4 separate regions of the Homo sapiens genome follow, and regions 1, 2 and 3 are each linked to region 4. Evidence: promoter capture Hi-C in human tissues and cell types (Jung and others, 2019). All regions are on one chromosome and are shown on one strand. The core of a region is centred on a gene start or on the middle of the fragment in contact, and the rest is flanking DNA. Distances in the headings are between cores, read along the strand shown. Region 1 has its middle 25 kb from the start of TSPEAR. Region 2 holds the start of KRTAP12-2 (keratin associated protein 12-2). Region 3 overlaps TRAPPC10 (trafficking protein particle complex subunit 10). Region 4 holds the start of TRPM2 (transient receptor potential cation channel subfamily M member 2).

Evidence for each region. The method cuts DNA at HindIII sites, captures the fragments that hold promoters and counts their contacts. A contact is called where the count stands out against the background at its distance.
Region 1: a contact is called between a fragment that was not itself captured here and the fragment with the promoter of TRPM2 in region 4, in 1 of the 25 tissues and cell types used here (lymphoblastoid cells).
Region 2: the fragment with the promoter of KRTAP12-2 here is called in contact with the fragment with the promoter of TRPM2 in region 4 in 2 of the 25 tissues and cell types used here (heart right ventricle and mesenchymal stem cells).
Region 3: a contact is called between a fragment that was not itself captured here and the fragment with the promoter of TRPM2 in region 4, in 1 of the 25 tissues and cell types used here (lymphoblastoid cells).

Annotation. Positions count from the first base shown.
Region 1 is chr21:44,734,145-44,739,138 of GRCh38, forward strand. No RefSeq gene overlaps it. Among named protein-coding and RNA genes, the nearest start is that of TSPEAR, 25 kb to the left of the region's middle. RefSeq lists enhancers at 1,226-1,899, 1,900-2,575. The HindIII fragment of the contact is 6,322 bases long and covers 1-4,970 here.
Region 2 is chr21:44,663,921-44,668,629 of GRCh38, forward strand. KRTAP12-2 (keratin associated protein 12-2) reads right to left here and starts at 3,007. Exons shown (of 1, transcript NM_181684.3): 1 at 2,269-3,007. The coding sequence starts at 2,966. The coding sequence ends at 2,526. The region is part of intron 1 of TSPEAR (thrombospondin type laminin G domain and EAR repeats); the gene reads right to left. The HindIII fragment of the contact is 12,719 bases long and covers 57-4,709 here.
Region 3 is chr21:44,015,984-44,020,383 of GRCh38, forward strand. All of the region lies in intron 1 of TRAPPC10 (trafficking protein particle complex subunit 10), which reads left to right. Among named protein-coding and RNA genes, the nearest start is that of TRAPPC10, 5.9 kb to the left of the region's middle. The HindIII fragment of the contact is 4,381 bases long and covers 505-4,400 here.
Region 4 is chr21:44,352,126-44,356,941 of GRCh38, forward strand. It overlaps TRPM2 (transient receptor potential cation channel subfamily M member 2), which reads left to right and starts at 1,496. Exons shown (of 32, transcript NM_003307.4): 1 at 1,496-1,740; 2 at 2,523-2,611. The coding sequence starts at 1,576. RefSeq lists enhancers at 1,712-1,761, 1,922-1,971. The HindIII fragment of the contact is 21,861 bases long and covers 1-4,816 here.

The sequences.
Region 1 (4,994 bases), core at 560-3,059, 380 kb after region 4:
GACTCAGCTGCTTTGGCTCTTGGCCTCGGAGTGTAGGGTGCCCGGCCTCGGAGCATTACCCCCGGGAGGTAAAACCCTTGTGGGGTCAGGACATGTCATCCATGAGAAAGTGCCACGTGGCCTGAAGTCAGCATCCCCACACATGCTGTGGCTCTCTGTCCTCTCTGAATGTCACTGCTCGAGATAGGGCCCGGCTTGGGTGGGGCTGCAGGCGGGGTTAAACTGCCCCTGGGTGAGAGGGAAGAGCAAATCCCTTCACTTCGCTGGGCTTCCATTTCCTGACCCATAAAATGGGAACCCTGCTGGTGGCCATTGCCCTGCCTCCCCGAGTTCCTACAAAGCAGGTGGCCTGGGTCTGGGCTCAGCCCCCTCCACTGGGCCAGGAGATAATGCCATTAGTGTAACCACAGCAGTGGCCACTCCCAAATGCCACTCGGCCCCTGGAAACTCAGCCTTCCATCCAAAAGGTCCCCGAAGTGGGGAGCGGCCCCTCAGTCATTCCACACAGCAGGCCCCACCCACCCCCCCGTGCCGGGGATACACGTGCTCAGGGCACACTCCATATGGATCTGTCGTCTGCCTCGATGACTTTTCACCCACACATGGGATTCAAGGCATGATACGGGTCTTTAGGACATAACTGTTTAATTCCTGAGCTTCCCAAAACTCGGAGGTTTGGGAGAAATGGGGCTGGAGCTAGAGCAATAGCCATGTGCCCTGTGGACTCTGGCCAGCTCTTGCTGCCATCCCGCCTGCCCCGGCCCCGTCCTCTTCCAATTCCCGTTTACAGCCCTGCCCTCCGTGCCTGTCCCAGGCACCTCTGGCCTCCTCGCTGTGGCCCATGCCAGGTCATTCCCTACTGTCAGAGCCTCCCTCTCCCAACCCCAGGCCCCGGCTGCAGGGAGGGTGCCAACAGGAGGGGGCAGGACAGGAGAGGCCCCATCCCCGGAAATGAGACCAGAGCCGCTCTGGGAATGGCCAGGGCTGCCCGGCGGCAAGTCACGAGCAGGGCGTCACTGTCCCAGCGCGGCTTCCCAGCCTCCTGCAGGGGCCAGGGTTGGGGTGCATTCTCTGTCTTCTCAGTGAGGACGCGCAAATGTTCCAGGATGGAAGATAAATGTTCAGGAAAACGAGGACCCAGAAATTCTTCATGGGCTGCATGAGCCCTGAGGCCCGACTGGCAGGCCACTGAGGTCACCTGAAAAACTGGTGACAACGGGCGGGCTCAGCGGCTACCCGGGGACAATCACGGCAGGCGGAAGAGCGGCACTGGCGTGGAGCTCCCAGGCTCTGTGAGGCTCCAGGCAGCGCCCTCTCCAGCCCTGGCAGCCAGGCTGGGGTCCCCAGCTCCCAGTGTTTACCCAGCAGGCCCTGCCTTCTGACAAATTAACTCTGAAAGGCTTAAAAAGTGTGCCGTGTGCTTTGGCTCTGACCTAAGATAGACGACACAGCAGAACACACAGAGGGTGTCCCACTTGAGGAGCCTCCACACAGGCAGCGAGGTAATCCAAAGCTCTGAATTCCAGGTCAGGCCCACGCACCACGAGGAGAGAGGAAGCAGATGGTCCTCCTTGCAGGGATGTGTCACGTCCTCCCACAATACACAGGGTCTCCATCCCCCAACGGGGTCACGGGTGCTCCCTGCAGGGTGCAAGACAGTGTCCTTCCTTGTGGTCTAGGCTGGAGAAAGGTAGACTTCAGGGGAGAAGAGCTGGTTCCTCTCAAGGTGGCGGCCAGCTGAGATGTCAGGAGTGCCAGTGTCCTGGGGCTGCTGTGACAACAGCCACAAACCAGGCAGCTTAAAGCAACAGAAAAGTCTTGTCTCAGGCCTGGAGCCAGAGGTCTCAGATCAAAGTGTCACTGGGCCGCACTGTCTCTGGAGGCTCCAGGGGAGGATCCTTCCTGCCTCCTCCAGCTCCTGGCAGCTGTGGTGTTTCCCGGCCTGTGGCCGCATCACTGCAACCTCTGTCTCCCTTGTCATGCGGCCACCTGCTGAGTCTCTGTCTCCACACGACCTTCACATAAGGACATATGCCTCTTGGGTTAGGGCCACCCCAATGACCTCACCTGCACTTGATTATACCTGCAAAGACCCTTTTTCCAAATAAGGGCATATTCACAGGAAAAAGACTTCAGCATCTTTTTTGGGGTGGCCATGCAGAATCATGGGTGTTTCTGTGGGCCACTGCAGAGGGCCTGAAGTCCAGCCTGTCAGTGGTGAGCTAGGGAAACTGAGGCAGAGAGATCCAGAGGATTCTTTGAGGCACAGCAAGCTGGAGAGGAGCTGGGCCTGCTCCTGGCCGGATCCTCTGGGGCTCTCCAGAAGCCTCGCCTTGAGGCCGTCACAAAATCCCTGTCCTGTTGCCACATCCCTGGGTACCCCAGGCCCACCTGACTTCCCACTCTGTCCTAGCCAGCAGCAGCAGGGCCGTTGCAGGCTCCACATGCTTCCAGGGCACCAGCCCTCCCCGAGTGACACCCCCTTCTCATCATCTGCCAGTTCACCCACACAAGAGTACACAGGAGGAGTGGGCATCTTTTTTAGGGTCCCTCTGGCAAAGCTGCACAAGGTTCACTGAGATGATCATTTACAGTAGGCTGCATGTCCAGAGGCCAAGGAAATAGCCTGGTGGGAACAAGTTAGCAAACACGGTGAGGACACCACAGTCCAGCTGAACTCACAGAGCACGGGCACCAGGCCAACATAGTGAGTGACGCAGCTGCCCTGACTGGGCTGGGCATCCATGGGAGGGGCAGACACTGGTGCTTAGCAAGGACCTGCAGGGCCCTGTACCCTGAGATAAATCACAGCTCCCTCCTGAGAGCCCTTCTGGGTGTCCCCCATCTGCTGTGGGGCCACAGAGGCCATGTCATGGTGGATCATGGAAACAAACGTCCCACAGAGGGGAAAGCAGAGAGAGATGGGGCAGCTGGGATGCAGCAAGCAACAGGCCAAGCCTCTCTGAGAAGGGACTTGATGCAGAGGCCCTCTGCAGGGGACAAAGTTGAAGTTTCCAGAGAACAGCCAGGGGAGGGGTGGGGTGGAGGGCAGGGGGAGGGGGAAGGACAGGTGGGGGCTGGGCAGGTGAGCAGGGGAGGGACAGGCGAGTGGGGGCAGGCTTCATGTGTTTTGTGGGCAGGGAAGGGTGTCTGTGTCTTACTCTGGTGTAACAAGGAGCCAGGGAGGGTTTGAACAGGGTGGGGTGCATGATCTGAGCACCAGGGAGAGGAGACTTGGGGGCAAAGGTGGGAGCAAGAGACTGTTGGGAGGATCTAGGATATCCTGGAGAAATGATGCTTGGATAAAAATAACACATTTTAAAGGCTGGACAGACAGAGCTGAAGGAGGATGAGATGTGGATGTGAGGGAGGAGAGCAGGCATGGGGAGCCCTCTTCCCTTACACACCACTGCTTGGCCAAACAGCAGGCAGAACAAAGGATAGGGATAGCCTGCCACTGCGTGGACTCTGGTTTTTCTCCCACTGGTCAAAAATGCAGCGTGAAGAGTGATTTGGGGGAAAATGAATTTAAAAGGTGTCATATTCCAAAGCATTTTGAGTAATAGAGGAAGTTTCTTCCAAATGGATGAGGGAAATAAATGATTTCCCCCAAATTGTCTCCCCTCTCAGCCCAGCCCTCATCCATTAAACAGGCAGCCTGCTTCTTCTAACAGCCCACTTGAACAGTGGAGTTTGAATCCAAAGATGGAGGAAGAACCTCAGAGCATGGAAGACAAGAGACTCAGCCTGGGCGTGGCAGGGAGGGCTTCCTGAAAGACAGGGTGCATAAGACAGGTTTTGAAGAAGGGGTTTTGGGGTGGAAAAACAAGGGGGACAGGAGTTTCAGGCAGAGAACATGCTGGTGGATGCCAGAGCATCCAAAAAGGAGAGTGCAGGAGATTCTCAATCAAGATATGCTCGCAAAGGAGCCGACATTCACCAGAAAGCTCATTAGAGGCCTTAAGAGCTCACCACAAACTGTCATGAAGGCAGAACCAGAACCAAATGTTTTCTTTGTTTATGAAAGGCAACATGGCTCTTATGCACCTGGTGGAATGTACAAGTCATGTTTATTTGGGGGCAATCTCTCAGTATTTAAAATGGCAATACCTCTGACCCAGTGATTCCTGTTTGGGACTTTTTTTTTATATATACAGATTTACCTCCACATACATATAACAACATGAGAACCAAAATATTATGGCAGTGCTGTTTAAGAACAGAAGATGGAAACAAATTGGCTGTCAATACAGAGGGGACTGAGTAAAGGTTGGGATGCCAATTCAAGGGACACTATGCAGCCACTCAAATGAAGACGATACATCTGGACATTTTCCATGACACAAGATCCCAGATAGATCATTAAGAGAAGCAAAGATGGCAAACAACCATCTTTCGAAGGATGTATGAATCCAGCAGCTGGCAGAAATGGATTGGAGGAAGTCATCATCACTCTATGCAACTCTAAATCATGTTCCCGCATCGCTACTCAAAATACTCAATCTGAGTCAAGGCCTTGGTCTGGCAAGCACCAGCTAATTGGGCTCTCTGTCCTTCCTGCAGAGACCTCTGAGCAGCAGCTGCCTGGTGTCCTCCACAGGGGTCAGCCTCTGACCTGGGAAACCCTGACGAGCCTTACCTTTCCACTCAGCACACATGAAATCAAGAGGAATACACCATGTTTCCAAGCTTTCTCCTGTCCTGGAGCCAGGAGCCCCAAGTCCCCTGAATGGCATAGGCCCCAAGGCCAGCCAGGCAGCTGTTAGCAGGGGAAAGATGAGTGGGTGCTGGACAGGCCAAAACCATATACATCCCCACAGAGGCAGTGGCAATAATCCCAGTGAGAGAGGAGCAAGAAAGGAGGGACAACTATACCAGACTTAAGAGATGCAAGGGGAGTGAATCGATAGCAACCTTAGAAAAAAGGTCTTCAACCAGGGGCTAGCCCCACTCTCTCAAGGGCATGCAGTCCTCAGAGGATCCAGGCCCAAGAG
Region 2 (4,709 bases), core at 1,757-4,256, 310 kb after region 4:
GAATAAAAACTGCTAGCAAACTAGAAATTAAAAGGAACTTCTTTTAAAGAGCATCTATGAAAAACCTATAGCTAATATCATACTTAATGATGAAAGACTATATGCTTTCCCCTTAAAATCAACAACAAAGCAAGAACATTCACTTTTGCCTCTGCTATTTATTACCATACTGGACTTCCTAAACAGTGAAGTAAAAAGCATGCAGCCTGGAAAGAAAGAAATAACACAGTCTCTATTAACATATTACATTATTGTCTACCTAGAAAATCCCCAAAATTCTACAATAAAGCTACAAGAACTAGTAAGTGAATTTAACAAGGTCAAAGAAAAAATGCCAATATACAAAAATCGATTTTATTTTAATATACTAGCAATGAACAATCAGAAATTGAAACTTAAAAATAGTACCATAATAGCATTAAACTTATAAAATACTTAGGGATAAATTCTGGGGGAAATATATAAAATGTATACATTGAAAACTACAAAATATTGATGAGAAGAATCAGAGAAAACCTAAATAAATAGACCATGTTATGGATTGCTGGATATGTCGACTCTCCCCAAATTGATCTATATAGTTTCAATACACTCCCAATCAAAATCTCAGCACAAATTCTGTAGATATTGATAAGCTTATTCAAATATCTATATGGAAAGACAAAGAAACTAGAGTAGCCTAAACAACTTCTTAAAAGAAGAACAAAATTGGAGAACTCACACTAGCTGATTTCAAGACCTACTATAAAGCTGCATTTATCAGGGCAGGATGGTGTTGGCAAAAAGATACTTAGCATATGACCCAGCTATTCCACTCCTAGACATTTACCCAAGAGAAAGAAACAAATACGTCCATGCAAAAACCTGGACTTGCTAACAAATGCCCCATGTGGAGCACTAGCATCACAGAACTTGGGCTCCAAGTGGCCCTGAGGGCCACAGCTCCAGAGGGCGGGGGCTGAGCCAGGCCTCATCCATGCTTCTCTGTGCACAGGGCAGGTAGGTTCTCCAGAAGCATTTTTTGGTTACCAACCCTCCCTCCTCTCATGCTCTGATTTCCAGTTTGACCTCTAACTCCCAGCCTGGGGGACCAGAGTGCTTACGTGTGTGCATAAGTGTGTGCACGTTGTATAGTGCACACATTGGGTGTGTTCATGGATTCGAATGTGTTCGGCTGCAAGCATTTATATGTCTGGGTTGATTGGTTCCATTTCTCACTCAGTTTTATCCAAAGCCTCCCAGTTTAAACTACACAATAGGTCCCTGACCACCTTGCCTAAAAGATGATGAAACCAGTTTTTTAACCCTAAACTCAACACTTGCCTCCAAGGCAAATAAAAATCTTGGAATCGAAGGCAGCCAGTAGTGAGAACGTTCTTCAGGGGACAGTTCTGGGCTATGCTATCTGGAATAGCAGACTCCTGGGGCAAGAGGGCTGGCCCATCTACTGGGGAACGTTTAACCTGAGACAGTCACAGCAGAGCCCCCCAGGAGGGGAATACAGCCCAGACAGGGGAAATGCAGAAGAATGCTACCAGCACAACGCAGACTGGGAAAAGCAAGTTCCAGATTACATTCTGAATAATTTCCTTTTCATATCACCAGAAATTACTAAATTAGAAAACACCCATTTCAGGAATACATAGAGATATGACTCAACTCTATTTTTTCTAGAAAGTAACAGAATAAGGAGCACACAATCCCAACAGTGGCTGCCCCAAGAAGTTCTTGGTAAATTATTGATGATGTTCTCATTTCTATGTCAGGCAGTGGGTTCATGCGGGTTTATTATATTAGGATCCTCAGTAATTGATCATCAGTCAATCAATAAAAACCAAGCCTTTGTGGACCAGTGATGGGAGTGTGTGCCGCAGAACTAATCCAGTTCTGTAAACTTGAGATCCTCCGCGACCTGGGAAACAGGACGTCCACCAACCACATCAGAAAACCCAATTGTCAATGCTCTGAGGCTTTGGCCATCAGTGCAGGGCTTGTTGGCCTGGAGCAGGAGTGGACAGCCAGTGGGGAAGCGAGACCACTCTACCACAGGCGGGTAAGTCACTTCTGTGGCCACTGCACCTGGGCCCCAGGAGCCCTGGGAGAGACCACATGGGCATCTGCAGCTGCGCCCTCCACCCGGGACACCACCTTCTGATGAGCACTGGGTGAAGGGATCACTGAAGAGGGTTTAGCAGCAAATTCTATGTAATCAGCAGAATAGATAGCAGGGAGTATGGAAATAAAAAAGAAAGACCAGAAATGCAGAGCTGCATGGGGAAAGCTGGTTTATTTGGCTCTCATGGGGTCAGAGAATGACTCTGGGACCCCAGACTTCCCTGGGGGGATGGGCAAGGTCAGCAAGGGCTCCAGATCATTCTGTCACATTCTCAATCCAGAATTCAGAGGGTTCAACTGAGCATGCTTTTCACCTGCACCATGTGCAGAAGACCAACTGAGGACTCATCCAGGGAGTGTACAGGTGTGGCCTCATCTGCACTGGGAGCAGCGGGTCTGGAGATTCATGCTCAGCAGCAGGAAGAGATACTGTAGGAGATGGGTCTGCAGAGGACGCTGGTGCAGGAGGGCTGGCAGCACCCAGAGGACTGGCAGGACGGAGCCGCATACACGACAGGCCTGCAGCTCACAGGCACGCACAGGGAGGACTGGCAGGAGGGGGCTGCACACACAATGGGCCTGCAGCTCACAGGCACACACACAGAAGACTGGCAGCTCACGGGCACGCACACAGCTGACTTGAAGCTCATGGGCACACACACAGAAGACTGGCAGCTCACGGGCAGGCACACGGCTGGCTTGAAGCTCACGGGCACACACACGGAGGACTGGCAGCCCACAGGCACACAGCAGGATGCCTGGCAGGAGCTGGGCACACAACAGGCTGGCTGGCAGGGGCTGGGCGCGCAGCAGGCTGGCTGGCAGCCCGAGGAGCAGCTGGTATGACACATGGTGGCGTGTGGCTGGATAAGGTCGAGGCAGAGGGCAGTGATGTCTGGGGACGGCCTCCCTGGGCAGCCTTTATACCTGGGCCCAGGCATCCCCACAGCACAGAAGCACACCTGTCTTCCTTGTTTTTCTTCCTCAGTGCTGTCTCCTGGAGCTTAATTTTCTGTTGTAGGTGTCTCTGGGTTTTGTTTGGCCCTTAGCTTCATGACTAATTGCACCTTCTTCGAACTCTTGGTATGCTTGGAAACCTGCCAGAGTGTTTTACTGGCTTCATCAAGATTCTTCCTTGTTCTTTAAAATTTTACCTGAGTTACTTTTGTGAGATTCCAAAAACTCAGATCTCCAGATTTTTTTCCTCTCTGTGTGATGATGGTCCTTAAACCACAGAAGTTTACACTCCTCTCATGGCTCAGGAAGGCTCCACAGTCAATGTGAGGTAGAACAGGACGTGTCTAGCTGATCTGTGGGTGTCCTGAGAGCTTAGAGCTGGATGAGAGCTAGCAGATGGAGGAAGAACATGGAAATCACTTGTCCATAGGATGAGTGGGGACAAAGGGTGTGGGTCACAGAGAACTTCTTGTGAGTGGTGACCATGGATCTTTGTCTTGAGAAATCCTCCTAGTTAAGAACCAAGATGAGACAACACCACTGGCCCTCATGCATGGAGACACAGCTCTAAGGAAATCAAGCTGGTCCAAGCATGTTCCCAGGGAAGCATGTGAGGCCAGTGAAGGGTCCCATGGACAGCCACAGCAGGATATGTGTGAGCTGAATATAGAAGGTTCCAAGGGCCAGAATGACTTCTGGGTATGTTCAGCAGAAAGCCATGTGCACCCTGTACTGCAGGGACAGTAGAATCTCTGAGCCTACAGATGTCAACACCAGATCACTTGGAACTTGGCATCATGATAACAGAATGAAGGAAAAAACCACGTGATCATCTCAATTGATATAGAAAAGGCATTTCACAAAATTCAAGATTCTTTCATGATGACAACAATCAACAAACTAAGAATAGAAGAAAACTACCTCAACACAATACAAGCCATACATGAAAGACCCACAGCAAGCCTCATACCCACTGGTGAAAAACTGAAGGCTTTTTCTCTAATATTGGGAACAAAGCCAGCATAGTACTAGAAGTTTTACTAAGAGCAACTAGGCAATTGTTTTTAAAAGGAAGAAAGAAAGAAACAAAAAGCATCCAAATTGAAAAGCAAGAAGTAAAGTTAGCTGTGTTCACAGATGACATGATTTTTATATGTAGAAAACTCTAAATATTCCACACACAAAAATTTTAGAATAAATGAATTCAGCAAAGTAGCAGGATACAAAAGCAAAACACAAAAATCAGTTCTATTTCCATAAACTAACAAGCATAATCTCAAAAGGAAAGTACAATAACAATTCCATTTACAATACATTAAAAAGAACAAAATACTCAGGAGTTAACCAAAGAATTAAAATAATTGTGTAACAAAAACTACAAAACGTTGAAAGAAATTAAAGGCAACAGAAATAAATGGAAACACATCCCATGTTCATGAATTGGAAATTAATATTGTTAATATGTCCATACTAACCAAAGCAATCTACAGATTCAATGCAATCCCTGTCAAAATCCCAAGGACATTTCTTGCAGAAATAGAAAAACCCATCCTAAAGTTTATGTGGAGTCTCAAGGGACCCTAAATAGCCAAATCAATCTTAAGAAAAGAATAGAGCTGGAGGAGTCACACTTTCTG
Region 3 (4,400 bases), core at 1,445-3,944, 330 kb before region 4:
GCACAGTAGGGGCCTTCTTAAACTCAGAACTAGTTACAGCTTGTAAATACTGAAGAGTGTATGTGAAATGTGCAGGGATGGGAGCTGAACAGTTAGTGGAACTAATGCTTTGACGGGGTTGGGTGATGAATGACCGAATCATAGCAATAGGAAAACTTGTAGTATATTTTATTAATCATGAAAAATGCCTGGCGTAACTGAAACAAATCCAGCAGATCCATTTGGTCTAAATTTAAATTTTAGCGTAGATTTGTTTTTCAGCCACAGGGTCAGTTTTCTGTTTTGAAATAGACTTGGGTTTCTGTTCCAAGGGTGTATTAGGAAAGACACGTTCCTTTTCCAGCCATCTCATTCAGTTAGTGACAAAGTTAATGTAATTCCAGTGATTTGTGGCTTTTCTTTGTTGACTGTCCTCATACCTACAATAGCACATACCTGTTATTAGCTTGGAATTGAATTTCTCTGAACAATAATAGTACCCTCCCTCTAGGTGATCTGTTCTCATTAGTCACATCTGTTGCCTGTTTCATTTTTCTGAGTTTCTGTATTTGGGGTTCCAGGTCTGATATTAGAAACTTTTAAAGGGGAAAACAGGCAACAGAAATGAGCAGATATGTAGAGCTTCGTGTCTGGTTGGACTTTGGGATTTTCCCCTGTAGGTTAAAATTTTTTTAATTTTAATTTTTATTTTTTGAGACGGAGTCTTGCTTTGTTGCCCAGGCTGGAGTGCAGTGGTGTGATCTTGGCTAACTGCAAGCTCCGCCTCCCGGGTTCACGCCATTCTCCTGCCTCAGCCTTCCGAGTAGCTGGGACTACAGGCGCCCGCCACCACGCCTGGCTAATTTTTTGTATTTTTAGTAGAGACGGGGTTTCACCGTGTCAGCCAGGATGGTCTTGATCTGACCTTGTGATCTGCCCGCCTCAGCCTCCCAAAGTGCTGGGATTATAGGCATGAGCCACCGCGCCCAGCCAGGTTAAAGTTTTTAAATTTGCACATTGAAATTTTCTACTAAACCTGAAAATGTGGTGCTTGCGATTTAACCATCACTAGTTTTACTACCAGAAAAGTCACTTGAAATGTCTGTTTAAATGGGTGAATATGTTATAAATGCAGATTTTGTTTCATATTGAATTCTCAAGGCAATGTTGAACCAAAGATTGAAAAGTAGGAGAAACATTCTTCTTAGGAAATCGCAGTTGTTGCAGAGAGTATGTATTTGGAGGCGGGGACTAAAGGCACCAACAAATGTGCTTAACTTACTATGTCATTTCTACCCGAGCATGGTTACAAACCATTCCATCTTGTACGCATGACCTCGGTTCTTACATAATTTCACAGACCCTTAGCTGTGAAACGGGTACAGTACCAACCCCATCGGGTTGAGAAGGGTGTGTAAAGCACTCAGGAGAGTGTCAGGATTATAGTCAGTGTGCAAAAAAAGTTACTAAGGAGAGGTTCCTCAATTTTCTCTGTTCACAATGCTTTTAGTGTCTCGGTAATTTTTTTCATGGCATCTCTAGGCTAAAAGGAATACTTAAAAATTCCATTTATTAAGTAGTTAGATTCCAGTAATTTATTAAATATTATGTCCTAACAAGAGCTGTTTGAAAAAAAATATATATAAGTTGGAAGAAAAAAATATTTTCATCATTCTTCCTAATTGCAGCAGTGTGCTACGTGGGGGGCAGGCCCTGCGGGAGCTCTGTGGCACCTCTCACCTGAAGGTCGGATTGGACGCTGCTTCTCCCTTTGGTTTTTTTTTTTTCTTCTTCTTTTTGGTGGTACTTGCTTTTTATCAGAGCAGCCACCCTGTTTTGCGACGATAATGATGTCATCGAAAGAAGTGGAGCCCTGATCTGATGTTGACACTGTGAATACCTTGTGTGGGGTTCCTACACCACAAGCATTGCTGTTTCCCTCATAAATTTAAAATATCTCTTGGTGCCTCTCTGCGTAGTGTGTGGGAAGCCTAGGTACACAGTTTGGGAACCCGTGCTGTTAGTGTTATTAGCCCAACTCCAGGGTGGATTTGAACTGATACTTTAGAATTGAAAAGCTTCCTTTCTTTTCAGCTCACACACCTACTTTACTACAAGATGTGTTTCTGAAGAGTTTCTAGTAAGTTCTTTATGCAAATGAAATGGAAAGGTCTGATTTTCTTTTTTTTTTTCTTTTTTTCTTAAGTGCTGATGAATCTCTGAAATAATCAAGTATGATACAGCTTGGGCAACATAGGGAATTCCTATCTCTACAAAAATGAAAATAAAAAAGTTAGCCAGGTGTGGTGGTGTGCGCTTGTACTCCCAGCTACTTGGGAGGCCGAGGCGGGAGGATCACTTGGACCTGGGACGTCAAGGCTGCAGTGATCTGTGATTGTACCTCACACTGCAACCTGGGTGACAGAGCAAGACCTGGTCTCAGAAAAAAAAATAAAGGCTGGGCGCAGTGACTCATGGCCATAATCCCAGCACTTTGGGAGGCCAAGGTGGGTGGATCATGAGGTCAAGAGATTGAGACCACCCTGGCCAACATGGTGAAACCCCGTCTCTACTAAAAATACAAAAATTAGCTGGGCGTGGTGGCTCGCGTCTGTAGTCCCAGCTACTCGGGAGGTTGAGGCAGGAGAATTGCTTGAATCTGGGAGGCGGAGGTTGCAGTGAGCCGAGATCATGCCACTGCACTCCAGCCTGGCGTGAGACTCCGTCTCAAAAAAAAAAAAAAAAAAGTATGTCGGGCATAACACATGAACCAGTCTTTCCTTAGAGAGTTTTTGCTGTGTGCTTCCACCAGAGGCCTGCCAACTGACAGTGTGATTGTGTGGCTCACTCTGGCTGAGTTGGTTATCTTTTAATGGAAATACAAATAACTGACTTAAGGATTTTTTTGTCGTAGGAAAGTTTGTTGCCAGTTGACAGAGTGTCTTCCCTGGAGTCGCATGCCTTAGTGTGTAAGTGTGTGGTCTCCAAAGGTATTGCACACTGATCTCCAAGTACTGACCCTCCCACCCCCGTGCTCCACTCTAGACCTGGTGGCTTTAGATCTGGAGTTAGAGACCAGCAACGGCAGAAGATTACAGGGTCTTTTTTTTTTAAGACATGGTCTCACTGTGTCGCCCAGACTGGAGTGCAGTGGCATGATCTCGGCTCACTGCAGCCTTGACCTCCTGGGGTCAGGTGATTCTCCCACCTCAATCTCCCGAGTAGCTGCTTGTGTGCCACCATGCCCAGTTAATTTTTTGTATTTTCAGTAGAGATGGGGTTTCGCCATGTTGCCCAGGCACGTTTTGAACTCCTGGATTCAAGCAATCCGCCCTCTTTGGCCTCCCAAAGTGCTGGGATTACAGGCATAAGCCACTGTGCCCAGACAGCTGCAGGGTCTTAAACAGTCAAAACATTCCCACCTCAGTGCCTGCCTCTGTGGTGGGTTGCCTCAGAGCTTCCTGTGGCTTCCTGTCCTGTGTCTCACCTTCTTTCTTCCTCAAATCTTTCCTCTATCTGCTCTTAATGTCAAATATAGTCACAGTATTTTGGCCTTAGAGAATATTTGTTTTTAAATTAAAAATTGATAACCTTGGAGTCATTTATGACTTCTTTTTTCTCTCACAACTGACATTATCTTTGAAATATATCTAGAATCCAGCTATATATAGGGCCTGCCTGGATAATCTGGGATAATCACATCTTGAGCTCCTGAACTTAATTAAGTCTACAAAGACCCCTTTCCCAAATAAGGTGACATTCACAGGTTTTGAGGGTTAGGATGTTGTGGGGCACCATGCCACCTGCCGCACCACTGTCTGTGTTAGCTACCAAGCGCGCAGTGGCCGGCATTCATCAAGCGTCTTTGGTTTTAGACAGCTGCGTCTGTCTTTGGAGGTTTGTCCTTCGTGTACTCCTGACCGAGGGAATGTTATCTTGACATTTGGGCTTCTGGGTTCTAGATGTGGTTACAAGGTGGGGTGATCCCTTCTTAGGAAAAGTCCAGCCTCTTCTGTGCTCTCTCCCTTATGTGGCTTTTTGGACATTTGTTACATGGTGTTTAATTTCTGAATATTATTTTAGGCCCCTGTTTGCAATTTTTTTTTTTTAACAGTGACCAGGGACCATTCCATTGTATGTTTGGACATTTTTCTTTTCTTTTCTTTTTTTTTTTTTGAGACAGAGTCTCGCTCTATTGCCCAGGCTGGAGTGCAGTGGCGTGATCTCGGCTTACTGCAAGCTCCGACTCCGCCTCCTGGGTTCACGCTATTCTCCTGCCTCAGCCTCCCGAGTAGCTGGGACTACAGGCGCCCACCACCACACCTGGCTAATTTTTTTGTATTTTTAGTAAGGATGGAGTTCACCGTGTTAGCCAGGATGGTCTCGATCTCCTGACCTTGTGATCTGCCCGCCTCGGCCTC
Region 4 (4,816 bases), core at 246-2,745:
TCTGCCCCTCTGCTTCCCTCGGAAGCTGGTTGTGAAGCCGGGCCAGTGGCTGCGGGGACAGCTCATGGCCCTGGAAAGACCCCACTGGCATGCGGCACAACATCTGCTCTGAGAACTGCAGGAAAAGGCCGGGCAGGGCACCCCTGCCATCCTGCCAGTGAAGTTTACGGGTCTCGGAATGAGTGTGGCCAAGGGGCAAAGGGGAGGAGGGAGAGGGGGAGGTGGGGTTGCCTGAGAGTGCCCGCCCCAGGACAGCAGCCCGTAGCTCAGCCCCAAGAGCCCGGCACCGAGCTTCGAGCTGCGTGGCCCCGAAGAGGGGCTCAGTCACCTAATGTGATGAGGGGACGGCAGAGCAAAGGCTTGTCTGACAGTGACCGTCGTGTGTAGTGGAGAGGACGTGGCCAGAGATCTGGTTTCAGGGCAGGGATGAGGGGGGATTCCAGTCAGATCTTTTGCATCCCAGCAACCCTCCCCTTGACACCTTTGGGGCAGTGGCAGGGGATGACCATGGATGACCTCATGAGAACACTGTGGGTGTCAGGGACTCAGGGAGGCCCCGCAGGGCTTGAACATGCTTATGTTTCTCATTTGTAAAGGGAGGGCAGTCATCCGGTGGCTTCTTGTGGCCTCGGTGATGAAGGCCACATCAGAGCCAGGGGGAAAGGATATGAGAGAAAAAGATTCATTTGAATTATTGTCTTTTTCCTGGAGTGGAGAGATGTGGTACTCCCCAAAACTTCCTTTCTAGGCTGGGCACAGTGGCTCACGCCTGTAAAACCAGCACTTTGGGAAGCGGAGGCTGGTGGATCGCCTGAGGTCAGGAGTTTGAGACCAACCTGACCAACATGGTGAAACCCTGTTGCTACTACATACAAAAAAAATTAGCAGGGTGTGGTGATTGGCGCCCATAATCCCAGCTACTGGGGAGGCTAAGGCAGGAGAATCACTTGAACCAGGGAGACCGAGGTTGCAGTGAGCCGAGACTGCGTCACTGAACTCCAGCCTGAGCGACAAAGTGGGACTCCGTCTCAAAAAACAAGAAGAAAAAGAAACTTCCTTTGTGGACAGTGAGGGCTATTTAAAAAAATTTTGGAATATGAAAGTAGTCACTGGTGTCTGGAAGCAGGAGCTGTGCAGAATTGTACAGTTGCGAAACCATGTCGCTGGCAGCTGGTGCTGGCGGTGGAGACTTCCCTGTGCGGTGCTCAGTGCAGCTGCACCCGTGGGGGAGGGAGCTCTTTCTCTGGCCCTGCAGTCACCTGAGGTTGTTACCATTATGAACGGCCGCTGGGACCCCCGCATGTGCATGTACTCCCCCAGAGTGTCCGGGGGCCCCAGCCAAGGGACACAGCTCAGGCAGCTGGGAACATGTGCAGGCTGATGAAGAGAACCGGATGAGGGCTTCACATGAGGAAGCATGTGGCCAGGTCCTCTCAGAACATCAGCCTCATCTTCCTGTCTCTGATCTATTTCAGCAACCACCCCATGTGTCTCTAGAACCCCAGTGTAGCGAGCTGGAGAGAGGACTGTCCTGAGGGCAGCAGGCCTGGTTGCAGCTGGCGTGGGGGTCTCAGAATGGAGCCCTCAGCCCTGAGGAAAGCTGGCTCGGAGCAGGAGGAGGGCTTTGAGGGGCTGCCCAGAAGGGTCACTGACCTGGGGATGGTCTCCAATCTCCGGCGCAGCAACAGCAGCCTCTTCAAGAGCTGGAGGCTACAGTGCCCCTTCGGCAACAATGACAAGGTAGGCTTTCTGCTGGTCAGCCTGCAGTTGGCACGTGGCCACGGAGGTCACCGTTGGGCAGGTCATAGCTTGAGGCTGTGACGACGGGGGTGGGAAAGGGTCTGCTGACCTTGGGGGCTCCTGCCCAACCATACCTTTGGGAGAACAGAACTGGGGAGGGTGATGCGTGTCTCGTCTTCTGTGGGTTGCATGACCATTTCCCATGGTTGGTCTGATTGGGAAATCACCGGGTTAACTCAAAAATGTTGCGCTAGAGTCCTGGAAATCTGTTACCCGTGCTTACCTTGTTGCATAATGATTTCACATCCTTTATCCGATTGGGAGGGCCTGGGCCTGGGCTAGCTTTCCCCAAAGCCCTGGATACAAAGACACAAGTATGTTGAAAGCACATGGCATCTTGCAGTCCCCTTGCCAGGCAGGCAGGAGGGTGGCTGCCCTTTTTCCGATGGTGCAAGATCCAGGTCCCCAGATCCCCAGCCTCCACGTTTTCCACCACACCATGTTGTTCCCAAGGAAGGTGGTGGTGCTGTAGAAACTGTAAAGTGCGCGCACATTCAAAATGGTCCCAAGAGGAAATGATTTCTTAGATTCATTCCTCCCTCCTGAATCCCCACCGGAGAGTCTTGGCAAGGTGCTTCTAATCTTTGGCTCAGGGTCGCGCAGGCTTCCTTCCTTCAAGCAAATAGTGTGAAAGCTCCTCAAGGAGCTCAGATGTGTCTCCAGGGGGCTGGGTGTGCTCTTTCGAATGTTGGAAGATCTCAGTGTGCTGTCTTTACCTTCAGCAAGAAAGCCTCAGTTCGTGGATTCCTGAAAACATCAAGAAGAAAGAATGCGTGTATTTTGTGGAAAGTTCCAAACTGTCTGATGCTGGGTAAGTGACGTGATTTGTGTGTAAGACCTCTGACTTCTTCCTTCCGATCCCACATGGAGTAGCTGATCAGGCCAAGACCCCTCAGGGCCTCAGTGAAGGGTCACTGGAGATACCTCTGTCTCCATACGAGGCTTAGAGTCCACAGAGCATTTCCACCTAACCCTTGCAAGCCTCCTGTCGGGGACAGTTGACCCTCATCCTGCCTCGCAGGTGCAGGGACCAAAGTGCAGAGTTTAGGTGACTTGTTCAGGGTCATAAGGGCACTGTCGCGCGGCGAGGCCCAGTGGTGTGAACACAGATGCATCCTCTAATCCTCTCATTTCCACACCTGCCCCCACCCCAAGAGAGAGAGTCCCAGGGTCCAGGAACTGGAAGGGCCTTAGGGAGAGTCCATGGCCAGAAGACTGCCCCCCTGCACAGCTTGCCAAAGCCAGAGGCCCGACTTGCCCCCAGGCCCCACAGAGCCCCCTTTGCCCCTCCTCCCCACAGAGCCCACGACTCAGGTGTGGCCAAGACCCCCGCCCAGGCAACATGGCCACTGTCTCTGAGTGGCTGGATATGGCCCTCCGGAGCCGATGGTGCTCCCCGCAGTTGGCGCCCCTTTAGGCACGGACAGAGTGTTGATTCATGTTTGTGTGCCCTCCCCGAGCAACACCCATTTCATGCTCTTCCACAAATGGGCCACACGCTTCCTCCTTTTACTCCATTGCCTGGTGAGCTCCTACTTATCCCTCAAGGCCTATTGCAGATGCTGCCTCTGCCGTGCAGCCTTCCGTGACTATACAACCTCTACCAGGAAGTGAGCTTCCCTCCTACCGCACCGTGTGTTTCTCTTTGATCCCAGCTGTCGTGCTGTAACTGTGTGGCTTTGTGTTCATCTTTCTTGCTAGCTGCTGAGCTTCTGGGGGGCTGGGACGAAAGCAGAGTGTTGTGTTAATTCCCAGAGAGTGGCCTTCAGCTCATATTTACTGAATATGGGGAGGGAGAAGCATCCTGTGCTTGGGAAATAGAAGAAGACTGTGTTGCCCCAGGGTACCTCTAGTGTACTCGGTACATCATCAGAGTTTCACGGTCACCAATACAACAGCTGTCCCTCCGCATCCCTGGGGAATTGTTCCCGGACACCCACGGACACCAAAATCCCATATCTCGTATCAGTCCCAAAATCTCATATCAAGTCACTGATATGAGATGGTGTGGTATTTGCATATAAACTATGTACATCCTTCAGCATACTTTAAATCATCTCTAGATTACTTATAATACCTGATACAATGTAGATGTTATAAAAATAGTTATACTGCATTTAAAAAATTTGTATTTTTGGGCCGGGCGCGGTGGCTCACGCCTGTAATCCCAGCACTTTGGGAGGCCGAGGCAGGTGATCCACCCGCCTCGGCCTCCCAAAGTGCTGGGATTACAGGCGTGAGCCACTGCATCTGGCTATGTTATTTTTAATTGTTTTTTTTTTCCTGAATATTTTTAGTCTGCGTTTGGCTGAATCTGCAGATGCAAAACTCGCGGCCATGGAGGGCTGGATGTAGAGACAGTGATGAAGAGCCCCATGTGGAAGGAGCGGGGTCTGTAGAGCAGTGGTACTCCAGCCTCGGAGCTCACCCTTGTTACTGGAAAGGGGTCCCGATCCAGACCCCAAGGGCGGGTTCTTGGATCTCACACGAGAAAGTATTTGGAGCGAGTCCACAGAGTAAAGTGAAAGCAAGTTATTAACAATGTAAAGGAATAAAAGAATGGCTTCTCCATAGGCAGAGCAGCCCTGAGGGCTGCTGCTTGGCTATTTTTTTTTTTTTTTTTTGAGACGGGGTCTCGCTCTGTCGCCCAGGCTGGAGTGCAATGGCATGATCTTGGCTCGCTGCAACCTTCGTCTCCCAGGTTCATGCGATTCACCATGTTGGCCAGGCTGGTCTGGAACTCCTGACCTCAGGTGATCCACCAGCCTTGGCCTCCCAAAGTGCTGGGATTTCAGGCATAAGCCACCGTGCTTGGCTGGTTGGCTATTTTTATGGTAGTTTTGGATCATGTGCTTAACAAGGGTGGATTATTCATGAGTTTTATGGGAAAGGAGCGGGGATTTCCCAGAACTGATTTCCTCTTTCTTTCAGACCATACAGGGTATTTCTGATGTTGCCATGGCATCTGCCAACTGTCATGGTGCTGGTGGGAGTGTCTCTTACATGTTAATATGTT